Regions from separate parts of the Homo sapiens genome. Here region 2 is linked to region 1. Evidence: promoter capture Hi-C in human tissues and cell types (Jung and others, 2019). All regions are on one chromosome and are shown on one strand. Each heading gives the region's core, a stretch centred on a gene start or on the middle of the fragment in contact. The rest is flanking DNA. Distances are from core to core; before and after follow the strand shown. Region 1 holds the start of RPS12 (ribosomal protein S12). Region 2 overlaps EYA4 (EYA transcriptional coactivator and phosphatase 4).

Evidence for each region. The method cuts DNA at HindIII sites, captures the fragments that hold promoters and counts their contacts. A contact is called where the count stands out against the background at its distance.
Region 2: a contact is called between a fragment that was not itself captured here and the fragment with the promoter of RPS12 in region 1, in 1 of the 25 tissues and cell types used here (dorsolateral prefrontal cortex).

Annotation. Positions count from the first base shown.
Region 1 is chr6:132,808,454-132,815,917 of GRCh38, reverse strand. It overlaps RPS12 (ribosomal protein S12), which reads right to left and starts at 1,349. Exons shown (of 6, transcript NM_001016.4): 1 at 1,305-1,349; 2 at 1,136-1,186; 3 at 830-946. The coding sequence starts at 1,149. It overlaps SNORD101 (small nucleolar RNA, C/D box 101), which reads right to left and starts at 611; the gene lies at 539-611. It overlaps LOC107986644 (a long non-coding RNA gene), which reads left to right and starts at 1,630. Exons shown (of 3, transcript XR_001744345.3): 1 at 1,630-2,625. RefSeq lists enhancers at 884-1,013, 1,444-1,723, 1,638-2,384, 2,814-2,883. The HindIII fragment of the contact is 14,605 bases long and covers 1-6,528 here.
Region 2 is chr6:133,454,028-133,460,912 of GRCh38, reverse strand. EYA4 (EYA transcriptional coactivator and phosphatase 4) reads right to left here. Exons shown (of 20, transcript NM_004100.5): 6 at 4,265-4,357. It overlaps EYA4-AS2 (EYA4 antisense RNA 2), which reads left to right and starts at 4,308. Exons shown (of 3, transcript NR_199014.1): 1 at 4,308-4,379. The HindIII fragment of the contact is 3,665 bases long and covers 1-3,258 here.

The sequences.
Region 1 (7,464 bases), core at 100-2,599:
TGCAATGAGATCGCGCCACTGCACTCCAGCCTGGGGGACAGAGCAAGACTCTTTGTCTCAAAAAAAAAAAAGAAAAAAGAAAAAAAAAAGACTGTGGCATTAATGGAACAGTTATGAAATGCCATGCAATAATGCCGAAATAGAAATACAGAAGACTCATACTAGGACCTACTAAATACATTAAACAATAATGCCGTTTCCATCGGATTGAACTGGCTAGATTACACCAAAACGAACTTGTCCTGTAAAACCTTAAAACTGCATTTAAATTCAGCTCAAGAGTAGGTTGATTTGTCAATGCCACCACCCTAAAAAACACATTAACTCGATCCATTCAAATACATTAACAAATATCCCAAATTCAAATAAATCACAGCTATTATACTACTAAATTCATCTAGGACCAAATGCTTCTGAAACCTGAGTTTGAAATTCCATTAAATTAATGCTTGTTTTGCAAACTACCAGATGTAATGTGGCTCTCCATCTCATCTATCTGCCAGATAAGTATAAGACTGACTAGCTCCACAACCTACAGGTTTGTCAGACTCTTATGTTTCACTCATAAAAGGAGTGAAGGGGTATCCGACAATTAAAGTCATCATTCAAACACTGTAGTTTTGAGTGCTTATCCCCATTCCAAACAGCAACCCACACATTTTAAGTGGGCTTTATAGATCTGAGTTCTGATACCTTTTCCTAGGTTTCCGGTAGGACGGATGCCATTCAGAACTTTTGCGCTAACACCATGAACTCCATGCCTTCTTCCCTTGGGTGGCAGTTTTGTTCCGGTTGCAAGAACCCACAGTATTGAGACTGATACACGTACTTGTCTAAGGCTTTGGCAGCTTCGCGAATTCCACGTGCTAGGCCATCGTGGATGAGGGCAGTCTTCAGAACCTCTTGTAAAGCAGTATTAACGTCCATTACACCTCCAGCAGCAATGCTTAAACGCGACACATCAGAACCATCAGTTAAAATCCTCACACCACATAAGGCCTTGCACTCAGCAAAAGCTAAGTGTACAACAGACGCGCTTACGGCGACCCGTTTGACCCAGTCCTGTTCCGCCAGCTCTAGCCCCACGCCTCAGCCGCACCCCGACCCCAACTCCAACCCCGGCCCCTGGGCTCACCCTTCCTCGGCCATGGCGGTGGGTTACGGGTGAAGTTGAATCTTGAACGCACTAAAAAACAAAAGCATTGACTTGTTAAAGAACCAGATACTCGTCACGAATCCCAGCAAGAACGCAACGAGCCACAAATTATAACCAATACACCCCCCTGCCGCCTCGCTCAACTTACCCCAAGCCTCCGCCTCCGCGCGACTCGGCGGCGGCAGGGAAAGAGGCCTCATCCGCACGCATGCCGGTATTTAAGGGTTTTTCAGGTCCCCTGTGCGCATGTGCACTCCCACCCTCGAAAGAGGTGGCTCCCGCAGTGCCGGGCCTGGGGAGTTTCTGTTTCCGGATTGAGGCGGTTCTGAGGCAAACGTACTGCGAGTTTTCTATCTCTGCCAGGCCGGTCCTTGGCGAGTGCAACAGGCACTACGCGGGCAGCTTCGCGTTGTCCTTCTTTGCGGAGGCGTGGCCCACCGAGGCCCAGGGAACTCATTCTACGGAGCGCGACAGAAGCCAAACAAGTGTGTCCGCGTGTTCTTTAAGGCACCTAGAGCCCTGTATCCCGCCGAGCGCCAGTTTTAACCCTTTCCACACCACGTTCTACTTTCCTGTTGCTTCTACAAGACCCAGCCTCCCCAGGCAGCGCACTTTGTTCCTTCGCTTCTAAGTCACCCTGAGAGACCATGTTTGTGTCGTTGTGGGTGTGATCCTCATCTTTGTCTTCATGAAACGAGAGCCTACATGCTTTCACTCTTCCAGGCTGGAGTGCAATGGCGCGATCTCAGCTTACTGCGACCTCCGGCTCCCGGTTTCAAGCGATTCTCCTGCCTCAGCCTCCCGAGTAGCCGGGATTGCAGGCGCCTGCCACCACCCTGGCTAATTTTTTGTATTTTTAGTAAAGACGGGATTTCACCATGTTGGCCAGGCTGGTCTCGAACTCCTGACCTCAGGGGATCCACCCGCCTCGGCCTCCCAAAATGCTGGGATTAGAGGCGTGACCCGCCGCCCCCGGCCGCTTTCACTATTTCTAAGCCCTTTCCCTGCGGTGTGTTGGTAAAGCGGAACCCTGCAGCCAGGGGTCAATTCTAGTTTCTAAGTATAGCGGGAGTCGCTTCTGAACGAAGTTTGTTCTGCTTTGTTTGGTTTTTAACGACGCGTTGTGCTCGGAATACACAGTTCCGCGCAACTCAGAATTCCTCAGGTGCATTTTCAACACCTACAATGTGCCTGACGCAGGGCCAGGTCCTGGGACTACAGACATGAAATATCCAGTCTTTGAGGAGTCCATTTTCTTCCAGGAAGCAATATTTTAAATTTGGAAGTGATTGGCCATTCCCCAATCCCCACTTCCAAACCAAACGCACGAAACACTACTGAATATGATCAATACTGCCTTTGTGTTTAATTTCCTCTCCTGGGTAGTCAGCCGCCAAACCAGTGAGCAATTATTAGGCGCTTGGCACGTGCCAGCGCTGTGAATCCAGTGGGCAGATACTGTTAGACTGGTGAGTGCAGCGAAAAAAACAAAAATGGGTAACGCAGTAAGAGCACCAGGGAGTTCACCAGAACAGAGACCTGCTGTAATGTTAATAAACTGATAGAGTTCAGTTTACTGATAGAGTTCAGTTTTAGATTTTCCGCTGGTTTCAGTTTCATTTTTAAAGCGTTGAAGCTGCTTCTCTGTCAGTAACTCATGCAAATGTTTATTGAGCTTTTGATTTAAAAAAAAAAAAAAAACGAGGAATTTATAAAGATGATTCATTCCTGTAGCCCTGGTTTGTTTGTGGTGGGATTAAGATTTTAGACAAAAATCAGAATACCTCAGGGCCACAGAGGAGATACAAAGTGGCAGGGGGTTAGGGAGTGGGGATGGTGTGAAAAGGTAAGAGGACCTCAGGCTTCTGGCAGCATTCGAAACAGGCTCAAAACAAAAACTAAGAGATTCCAAATCGGTGAGCATGGAAGGAGAGGAGGGTATTCTAAATGGATGAAAGTGTAGGGGCAAAGGCATGAAATCCTTCTTGCCTTTTTTGGAGGTTATAATTAACACGTTTGTATTTTTGAAAGAGAATGTGGCAAATAGTCTTTCAGCGCATTTCTCATTATCTAAAGACAGTACAGTTGATATGCTAAGCATATTAGATTCCTTCCCCAAACAAATTTTTAAGGAAGAAGCAGGGAATTTGGGAAACCTAAGTGAAAACATTCACTGCCAAACAGCATATTTATGTGGGGGGAAAATGATCAAGTGCCTTGTTAGCTAAGGCAGTTGTTCCCAGTACCAACCAGCTCAGACTTGGTTTCTATCTTTCAGCAGCTGCTAATCTGTTCTATTGACTCAGACATCGTGGATCTCTGCTTTAATGTTTCACTGCACTAAAATGTCTTTTCACACAAACCTCCCTCCTTAGAGGGAGCTACATTTTTTTTTAAGTCCTACTTATATAACCTACTTATATAACTTATATAACCTACTTATATAAGTCCTACTTATATAACCAGTTCTAACCCCCAAAATGAAGTCAGGGGGCACACTGGTGATACAGGGGTTCTTTAATATAGATTCTCCTAGTTCACTTTTTTTTTTTTTTTTTTTTTTTGAGATGGAGTTTTGTTCTTGTAGCCAAGGCAGTGTCGGGATCTTGGCTCACTGCAACCTCCACCTCCCAGGTTCAAGCGATTCTCCTGCCTCAGTCCCAAGTAGCTGGAATTACAGGTGCCCACCACTATGCCCAGCTAAGTTTTGTATTTTTAGTAGAAATGGGAGTTTCACCATGTTGGCCAGGCTAGTCTGGAACACCTGACCTTGGTTGATCCGCCCACCTTGGACTCCCGAAGTGCTGGGATTACAGGTGTGAGCCACTGCGCCCAGCCTCCTAGTTCACATTTTTAAGGTTACCTCCTCTCAATTTCAGAGACTGGTAAAGGTGGAAGACAATACTACATAGAGGATAGTGGTTGGTCACTCATACCAGCAGAGTATAACACATGTGCACAAATATGAGTCTGACACACATATGAAAACTAAATGTATTCTGAAGTTTGTTTTAGGAACAATACTGATAATAACAGGCAATTTGTTTCACTTTTTCTATATGCCAGATAAAGCGCTAAATTCTTTCAGGCATTTTTCCCCTTTATTGTTATGGAGACCCTATCTGGTAGTGATGGTATTAGCCCACTTTAACAGGTCAGGAAGCCAAGGCTTAGGTAGCCCAAGATCACACAGCTAATAAATGTGGAAGCTGGTATTTAAGCTCAGTGGACTTCAAAGCCTGTGCTCCTAACCCTTCGGTCATTTGAATGATTGCCAGAATGTGGAAAGGAGATTGCCGAGAATTCAAGAATGACTCTCTACGTCTCTGGTTTGGCAATAGTACAGCTAGTTCTATCCCACTGTGCTAAAAACTATATAGATGGAGGAAGGGAATATTGCTGTTAGGCAGAAAAATTTGCATTTGGATTTAGAAATTTGGATTTCTGAATTATCTAAGTGTAGATGTGTAGTTTGCTAGGGCTGCCATAGCAAAGTACCACAAACTGGGTGGCTTAACCAACAGAAATCTATTATAATGCTGAAGGCTGGAAGTCTGAAGTCAAGGTGTTGGGAGTGTTGGTTCCTTCTGAGGGTGTGAGGAAGAATCCATTTCACACATCTTTCCTAGCTTCTGGAGGTTTGTTGGCAATCTTGGTGTTCCTTGACTTGTGTTAGCATAACTCCAATCTTCGCATGATGTTGTCCCTATGTGCATGTCTGATTTTGTGTCTGAATGTTTCCTTTTTATAAGAATATCAGCCATATTGGATTAGGGGCTCACCTGCTCCAGTAAAACCTCATCTTAACTAATTACGTCTACAACAAACCTGTTCCAAATCAGGTCTTGTTCTGAAGTGGAAGGGGTTAGGATTTCAACATGTGAATTTTGAGGGAACACAGTTCAACTCATAACAGATGACAAGGAGGAGATACAGAATGATCAAATGAAAGAAAGCATCTTTGAGATGAACTGCAAAAAAACTTACTTTGAAGACCAGAGCTGGAGACAAAAACCGGGCTGAGGCATAATAATGATTTTATATCTTGGAGTGGTCAGGAGGACCCAACTGTGCAGGGTTAAAATTCCAGCTTACTTTGCGACCTTTGGCAAGTTATTTTCTTTCTGAGCTAGTAAAATGGTGGTAATGCTATAATATTTCTGTGAGGATTAAATGAGATAGTCATTTAAAGTGTTTACCACTATGCCTGTAAAGTAATTTACCTTATAAAGAACTTCATATGAAAATACATGGAGAGTTTCTTAAATATTACCTTTCTCCTGTCCTAAACCATCCAGCACTTAGTACAGTGAATTGCATATTGGAGGCTAAACACATGTGTACTGAATGAATTCACTGAGTGAAATAAGATTAAAGAAGCCTCTTGGGGCCGGGTGCTGTGGCTCAGACTGTAATCCCAGCACTTTGGGAGGCTGAGGCAGGTGGGTCATGGGGTCAGGAGTTTGAGACCAGTCTGGCCAACATCGTGAAACCCCGTCTCTACTAAAAATACAAAAATTAGCTGAGTGTGATGGTGGGTGCCTGTAATCCCAGCTATTTGGGAGGCTGAGGCAGGAGAATCACTTGAACTCGGGAGGCGGAGGTTGCAGTGAGCCACTGCACTCCAGCCTGCGCGACAGAGCAAAACTCCACCTCAAAAAAAAAAAAAAAAAAGCCTCTTGTGTAGATGTCATACTTAAAGGAAAGCCATGTTGAGGACTACCATAATAAATTAGAATTTGTTGGGAGTTAGTTGGAAGCTTTGAGCATCCCAGAAAATCACTTTTAATTTGAAAACTTCAAGTTTCCTTACCTTTGGGGGTAGAAACTAAATACAATGGATGGAAATGAGTGATAAGAAATAGGAGAAAAAAACTAAAAAATACTATACTGCTGCAACTCAGGAACATATAGGCTTAACTCTCATTTATTATAGCATGTAGTTTTAAACATACTGAAGAAAAATTAGTCATAGCTGAAGAAAGATTTGAATAGAATCCCATTGTATCAAAGGAAGAATTAAAGGAAAAAGAGAAGTTGCAAAGAGAGAAGAAAACAGAAAATAAGAAAGCAGATGCACTAATAAGAGTGGGATAGACTAATAAAGGCTGTTGGTAGTAGCTTGTAAAGTTAACATGTTTATTAAGTGAAAACAAGGTTGTAGGGGAGAATGGGGCTAGATTATTGTATAGCTAAGTATGAAGCCTGTGCCAATAGCTTATATTTTTGGAGGTTTTGTGTAATTATCATCTAAATTTTCACAAGTCTTAGTAAGAATATATCTTCACCTGCTTGTTTTGTAGTTTTTATCTGTTCTTTTTTGTTGTTGTTGTTGTTTTCTTTAGAGACAGGGTCTTGCTATGTTGCCCAGGCTGATCTTGAACTCCACTGTGCCCAACCATCCACTTTTTTTTTTTTTATTGCTACCAGATGTTACCCACAACTCTTGGGGTACAGTAGCTGCACACTACAGGGCTGACTTAGAGTTCATGGAAACTAAACAAACATACTATGGAATATAATTAGAGATAATACTTTATAAGTATCATCCTGAGTAGCTGAGATTACAGGCGCCCGCCACCACACCTGGCCAATTTTTATAAATAAACTAATTATAAACCAACTACGCAGTATTTTTTTTTTTTTTTTGAGATGGAGTCTCGCTCTGTCGTTCATGCTGGAGTGTAGTGGCACGATCTTGGCTCACTGCAACTTCCGCCTCCCAGGTTCAAGCAATTCTCCTGCCTCAGCCTCCCGGGTAGCTGGGATTACAGGCACCCGCTACCACGCCTGTCTAATTTTTGTATTTTTAGTAGAGACAGGGTTTCTCCATGTTGGCCAGGCTGGTCTCAAACTCCTGACCTCAGGTGATCTGCCCGCCTCAGCCTCCCAAAGTGCTGGGATTACAGGCATGAGCCAACGCACCTGGCCGCTACACAATAATTTATAAATGAAATAAAGAGTAGTGGAGGGTAGAGAAAAGCTTAAATTAACATTAAATTGATTCCCTTAGGATACAAAGAGGGCTGGTGTGGGGGAGACTCCAGCCCTCTCTGCTGCTTCCCCTGCTGTTATCTGCACAACATTTCTTTTGAAAATGAGTCCTGATGTTCTAAAATGTATTTGATGCATGCAGTTCTTATTAGAGAATCATTAGAATGAAGGCAGTACCACTCCTATTCTTATAACTGAAGCTACATTAAAAAAAAGTCCTGTTTTATATTTGTAGGTTCTAATCCTACAAATGAATGCGAAGGGCAGACTGGTGATTCAAGGACTCTTTGATTTAGATTCTCCTCTCTATCATT
Region 2 (6,885 bases), core at 177-2,676, 640 kb before region 1:
GTCTCACAAATCATTCCCTCTGTCATTCTTCCAGTTTCTCAAATCATTAGCATGCTCTTATATATTAATATGCTATGAATAAATATCTTTGATTATAGGGTAATTAAGCTTTCAAAATATAAAAGTAAATTTTTAAAATTTGCAAACTTTACATTTTAAAATACCAAATATGATGGCAATATATACATATTGCTCTTCCTCCATATCTGTTCTAATTCAAATACAATACAAAATAAGACTGTGATGTTCCAAACTTCATTTTCTAATGGTAAAATACTATTTTATTCTATTTCCTCTCATTTTACCCATCAGATGAACAATTAAAAAATGCAGTCTAAAATATTCCAGTAATAATTAAAGAAAGTGCAGGTGATTTCTTTAAAACATAATCACAAAATGCAGTAGCAATTACATTTACAAATATACTTTGAACTATTAGAGATAATACTTTTCTGAGAAGAACTTAAAGGTGAAAGTGAGGTCCTATTAACAGTTCATCCAAACATGGAGCCCCAAACTGGAATATATCCAATAGCTTGGAAGTTTCTCTTTCCTTTAACTATCTGCCTTGACTAAGACAGATGTTTTGCAAATATATGGACTCTAAAGTGTGAGCCAGTTCCCTTAGAGCCAATCCACACTGAGCGAGCACACAGAGTGTCTTTATTAGGCCATCTGCTGTTCATTCACTTTTCAAAAAGATTAAAGTAGTACACAATGCAGTGCTGGAATTAGTTTAGTCTAATCAATCATAGTTATACTTCAAAGTACTATGTCCTTTCTGAGTTGTTCATAATAATTCTGGAGCGAAACTTTTAGAATTGTAAAAGTGACAAATAGGTTTAGGTTGCTAACTATTTTATGAAACATGATATATTTCTATATATATCACAAGAACCCTTGTGATCTGCTTCACAAACATGCATCATTTAATGTGTTTAAAATGCTATTTTGCCTATAAGCTCTGAATATGGAAAGAATATTTTCATTTTCATAGCGATAATGAAGTAAGTATATTTTTAAGAATATTATCAGTCAATTTTGAAAATCATCAAATTTGACTAAAGGTGTTACTTCTAAATATTTTCAGCAACCAGAATTTAACTGAATTTGATACGTATCGTTGAAAATAAATTGACCAATAAACTATTACTTTTCTACATATTTATCAAAACTTAAAGAACGTTTTAAATTTTCAAATCAACTTAATGAAAACAGACTCTTTGTTCTACTACACAATGGACATTAAATGTGCACTTCATAATAGTAGTGTTATTCCAAAGATATTCATTCTAATTTATCGATTAACAATACCAAATACTCTAACAGAAATATAGTTAAATGACGCTTGATTAAATATTCTTTCGTCTCTTCTTTACAGAATTTCTCCTTGGTACACTCAAGACTTGGGCTATACTCATCAGTTATTATCAATATTGTGAAATAGAAGGCTTTTCCAAAGAGACGCTGAATCATGAAGATAAATATTCATTATAGTAACCTTTTATAAATAAGACATAGACCAAAATTACACATTTCAGAAAAAACTCATATACATGAACTCAATTCTGAATATATAGGATGTTTCTTCTAATGATAAATCTAAACATCATTAGAATAATGTACTCACAACACTATAAAGCCTCAACTAACCTTTACAAATTTCTATTAACGTCTATATGTTCATTTTCTAAATAGAACAGAAAACCTTTGGCTCAGAAAACTACGATGTTCACGTAGGAAAGTTTATGCTTCTTTACTAAAATATATACATTTTGTTCTAATTCAGAAATTTGCAGATAACTGAAAAGAACAACAAAATTGGATTAAAGTGAGTGGAAATTTTGCAGATCAAAGTAAAGACTGCTCCCACAAAGGGCAGCCTCATTTCCAGAATGGTTTCTGGAATATCTTGTACAAACTTGAAAGAATTTCGTTTTATTCCCCACTGTCATCTGATTAATCATAAACATTACCCAAAACACTCATTACATTCCATCATTTCTGCATACAACAGTAAGCAAAACTGCTTGTTTTCAAAATGCCCTGAAAATTAATTTAAATACATGTTTAATATCTATTGTCAGTTTCTCTGATGGTGTCAAAGCAATTTTAAGGTTTCATTCTCATTATCGTGCCATCTTAGATTGGTGACTCTCAATGGGATGAGAAGTGGGTGGGGGTGAGAATTTTGCCTGCCAGGGGACACTTAAACAGTCTGGATACATTTTTGGTTGTCTTTAGTAAGACATCTTTGGTTGCTTCTTTAGTAAAGAAGCATCTGGGGGAGTGCTGCTGGCATTCTGGGATAGATGCAGCCAAACATCTTACAGTGCAGAGGATAGCTTTCCCACACTAAAGAATTAGCCCAAGTCTTTAACAGTGCTGATGTTGATAATCCCTGCCCTGGATCACTGCTGTGGAATAAAACTTTCCACAGTGTTGGAAATGTTCTGTATCTGAGCTGTCCAATATGGTAGCTGCTAACCACATGCAGCTGTTAAACACTTGAAATGTGTTTAAACTTGAAAATTCAGTTAAATTTTGGTTGCTGAAAATATTGAGAACTTAACGCCTCTAGTCGTACTTGATGATTTTCAAAATCAATTAATAAAAATATACTTACTGCAATATTGCTGTGAAAATGAAAATAAAAAACAAAATTTTTAATTTTATCAAATTTTAATAACCACATATGACTGGTGGCTACCTTACTGGACAGCACGTCCCTAGATACTTCTTTAAAAATTTGCGAAAATATCTACAAAGACAATATGAGTGAATTTCAGACAGGATGATTGTTCATGCCTATTTCTTTTTCCATCTATTTTCTGATGGGGCATTACAGAAAGGACCCAGGGACTGATCATAAGGACATGGTTTTAGATTTGTTTATACCACTGACCAGCTGTGAGGCCTTGACTGTATGGCCTTAACCACTTTTAACTTCTCTTGTCTACAAAACGGATCAGAGAGCTCTGAAATTCCTTCTGGAGCTAACACTTTATAGTTTTGTCATTCAGCTTTCAATTAACTTGTAGTATACTACTGAAGTAGGTCAGCAATAAGTTAATAACTCCATTCCTTTCCTTAACAATTTGTTCATATAGATTTATTTTGCAGAAAGTTTACAAAAGCTATGGTAAGTGTGCAATACAGAATACTGAACTGGTAACTATCTCCTGAGAGGCAGGTAAACTGCTAGAAAAGATGTGGATTAGTACATATGAGTCTCTGTGCAAAGTTTATGTACTATTATTTCTTTCTTGGAGTACTAATATTTATGTAAATATATGGCAACTGCTTCTAATCGGTGTGAACTAGTGAAATTAGATCATCTGTAAAAATCAAATATATGCTATAATGACATAATACTCTAAGACATATCTCAACTATTTTTACACAAAACATACTGACAAAAAAATCCTTATAACATGAGCACATGGATAAATGTAAAATGTATTAAAGTAGAATAACAGAACCGAGATTCAATTACCACAAATACTTTCCTAGGTTTAATGTTCTTCTTTCTGATGTACCCGATCCTCCTCAGGTTAGAAAAATCCTTTCACCAGATAAAAAGCCGAAGAAATATTGTAACTTAAAAAAATTTAATTAAGTCTACTTAATTCATGCCCTTTGTGCCCAGCTGGGAGTTATCAGGTATTTATATTTTAAAGGGATTGATGTTTAAAGACATGCTATTGTTCTCTTTGAAGCATTCGAGCGCTCTCAGAGGCTGGGTTCTAATGCAACCAGCATGTGCTCTCCTGCAGCCCATTAACCTTTAATACTTGTCACTCAGCTGCTTACACAGGAGGAGTTTTTTAAACCCAGAGAGGAAACAAGGTTATTTAGAAGGAATCAAATGGATAGTTTTACATCTCGAATGTTAAACAGAAGGCAGTTTTTATGTAATTCAAATGGGTAAGTTGAAGAAGCAAGGTCAGCTACTACAACTTAATTATTAAATTAATTAAACATCGTATAAAATAATTTTGAAGGAAGTTAAGTTTACTTATCCATAATAAGAAAGTCATGGGACTTTTGCTGTCAACTAAAATATCAAGCGAAATTATTCTAAATATAATTTATAACAATGCATACTGCTATGACTATGAGTTCTCAAAAAATAAGAATTTGTTTCTAACTTTATAAGGATCAAAGTTCTAAGAGCTTGGATGCTTATGTTGCTTATTCCCGAGGAGGAGGATGTGGATGCACCCCCATGTGTACGTAAGGACACACGAGCTAAAGGCTTTACCTGACCCAGTAAAAGTGTCAAGCGCTCCATCTCCAGTCGTGGCTGTGGTTTCACTGCTGTTCAAGGGCTCTGTTTTGACTGCAAGAAGAGACACTACGTAGAAGAATAAGTACATGTGAGTTTTACTTCTAAATTTATGTCAAAGACTCTGTCCGTTCTACTAGTGATATTTCTAGCTACCATGGGCATGCAAGAGAAAACCTGAGAAGTTGATGAAGAGAGTTTGTTAATTTAGCTTCTAAACGGGCATGCATTTAGAGGATTTAATCTAAAATCCTCTGGCCAAGCTAGTTCTCTCAAATCCAGCTTTTAAAGGCAGTCAGCCTTAAAAAGTGAAACAGCAGTACACATATTTGTATTTTTAATTCACCTAAACACACTCTCATATAGTCAATAGGAAAGAAGGAATCATCATCAGTCTTCAGCACATTTAATTAAAATTATACCAAAGAAATTTACTAGCTTATATTTTATTTTTCCCAGGAAGATATTTTTTAAGTTTGCATAATAATACAATGGAGACATATAAAAGTATAGAAACCATGGGCTCATTCACACAATGAATGAAAAATGAAGCACTCAATGAAGCTCTAAAAAAGACTCACGAGCTATAAGGTGTTGGGCTTCATACTTTAATGGCATAACAATTTTTAATATGTTTAGAGATAAGCGTAGAAAAAGAGATGACTTCTACAGCAGCAAGTACACCTTTTGAAAACTCATTTTAATATGTTATTTCTACGTGGTAATGGTGTATTTTGGCAAAATCTTTGCTTGGTAACAAAGTGGCCTAGTACACATTATTATCATTATTAGATGCAACAAGGGTGATGGGGCGTGAGAATAAAGTTTTACCCATTTGGTCACACCATATTTTCCCTTTGTTGGCAAGGCTTTACTACATATATCATAGCAGCAAGGAAATAAACTAAGCTATTTTCTACTTAACACCTCTTGTGTTTCCTGGTCATAAGTGAAATGAATGATACAGTTAAATAACTTAGAAGCAAGCAGAAAATTATAAAGAAGAAAGCTGAAGACTAGCCAAAGGACAAAAAAGAACAGTCAGTCATAGGGTACCCACCAATCACACAAGTCAGTAATGTTATTCTGTTAGAAAAGAAATTAATTGATAGAAAACCATGCGGTAATGATTATGCTCTTTTCCACATGAACAGAATTAACCAGACCTTCAGTGAGCTCTGGGTTAATTTAGTATCCATTATTTATTAATGACATGATCAGCTGGAAGATTCAGAGGAGAAATGTAAATGTTGGAAACAGAAAGTAAAGAAACTTGGATTACTTTTCTTAGCAAAAAAGCAAACTCAAGTTTGACTTATCTTTCAAGAGCAACAATGATCTGAAGAGTAGTCTAATTATTTATATAATGATAAATAATGAATTGGTGGTTATTACTTTTCAGTAGTAATTTGCACAGTAATCCCTATTATGGTTATACCTTATCAATAACTAAACCTATCATTATAAAATCATTTTATCACCTTTATATTTACTACTATAAAACTAATACTTATTGAGAGCTTGCTACGTGCTAGATGATGTACATTTAGCTAATCCTTAAAACAACTCTAATTAATACAAATCACTATAACCATTTTATAGACAAGGAAACTGAAGTTCAGGGGGGCTGAAAAGCCTGCATAAGTTCCAGTGCAGGAGACGGTAGAGCTAAGATTTGAACTCAGGTTTTTAGCTCTAGTATGCAGGATCTTTCCACCGTATCAGGCTGCCTTCAGGTACGAAAATAGCTTATGCTCATGACAGTGTCTCTTCTCAAAGGCCCAAAGCATGATGAGAATGCAATTATCTCCTAGATAGAATAATTAAAAATACTTCACTGAAAATAAAAACTGCAAAATACTGGAATAGGATACTAAGGCATGTTTCCCATTTCTTCCTCATGGGATATTTTAAAAGACATCAAGAAGTAGCAAATTTGAAATTAGGTAACAGTAACAGCACACCCTTAAAATGAACTTGATACATTCCAGGCACTTCTCTTGTCCTTTACACCTACTGATTTACTCCTCTCAACAGTCAGTAGATAATATCATCATCTTTATTTTTCAGATAAGGAAACTGAGGCACAAAAAGGTTAAATAACGTCCCCAGTCACAAAGCTTGTAAGAGCTAGAATTTGAGACCAAGTAGTGTGTGTTCAGAATCCAAACTCTTAAACCATACTGCCTCTCAGGCAGCACTAGCTAATCAAGAATTCCTTTTGTCTGTATGAAGATAATGCAGAGTATAATCTAGATGGGTATCAAGGCTACTCCATTTCACGCAATGTTTACAATTGAGTTCTAACATTTATGACAAAAAGTCATGGCCCAAAGCCTTCAGCAAAACTAAGAAACAGTTTATCAGAGCTTCTGACTTCTACTTGCAGCTAAATTCCTATTTATGCATATCTATATCTACGAACAATATTTGCAAAAGTAGCTTTATTATACTAATTGTAATATAGATTTTACTTGCGAATGGAGGTGGCAGAATGTGAGCTGTGTCTAACGAAACTGGTCTAGAAGCCAGACATGAAGATTAGTTTTGTTACTTTGAATTTCAACTTTGAGACCCAATTTCAAAAGCTTAGTATT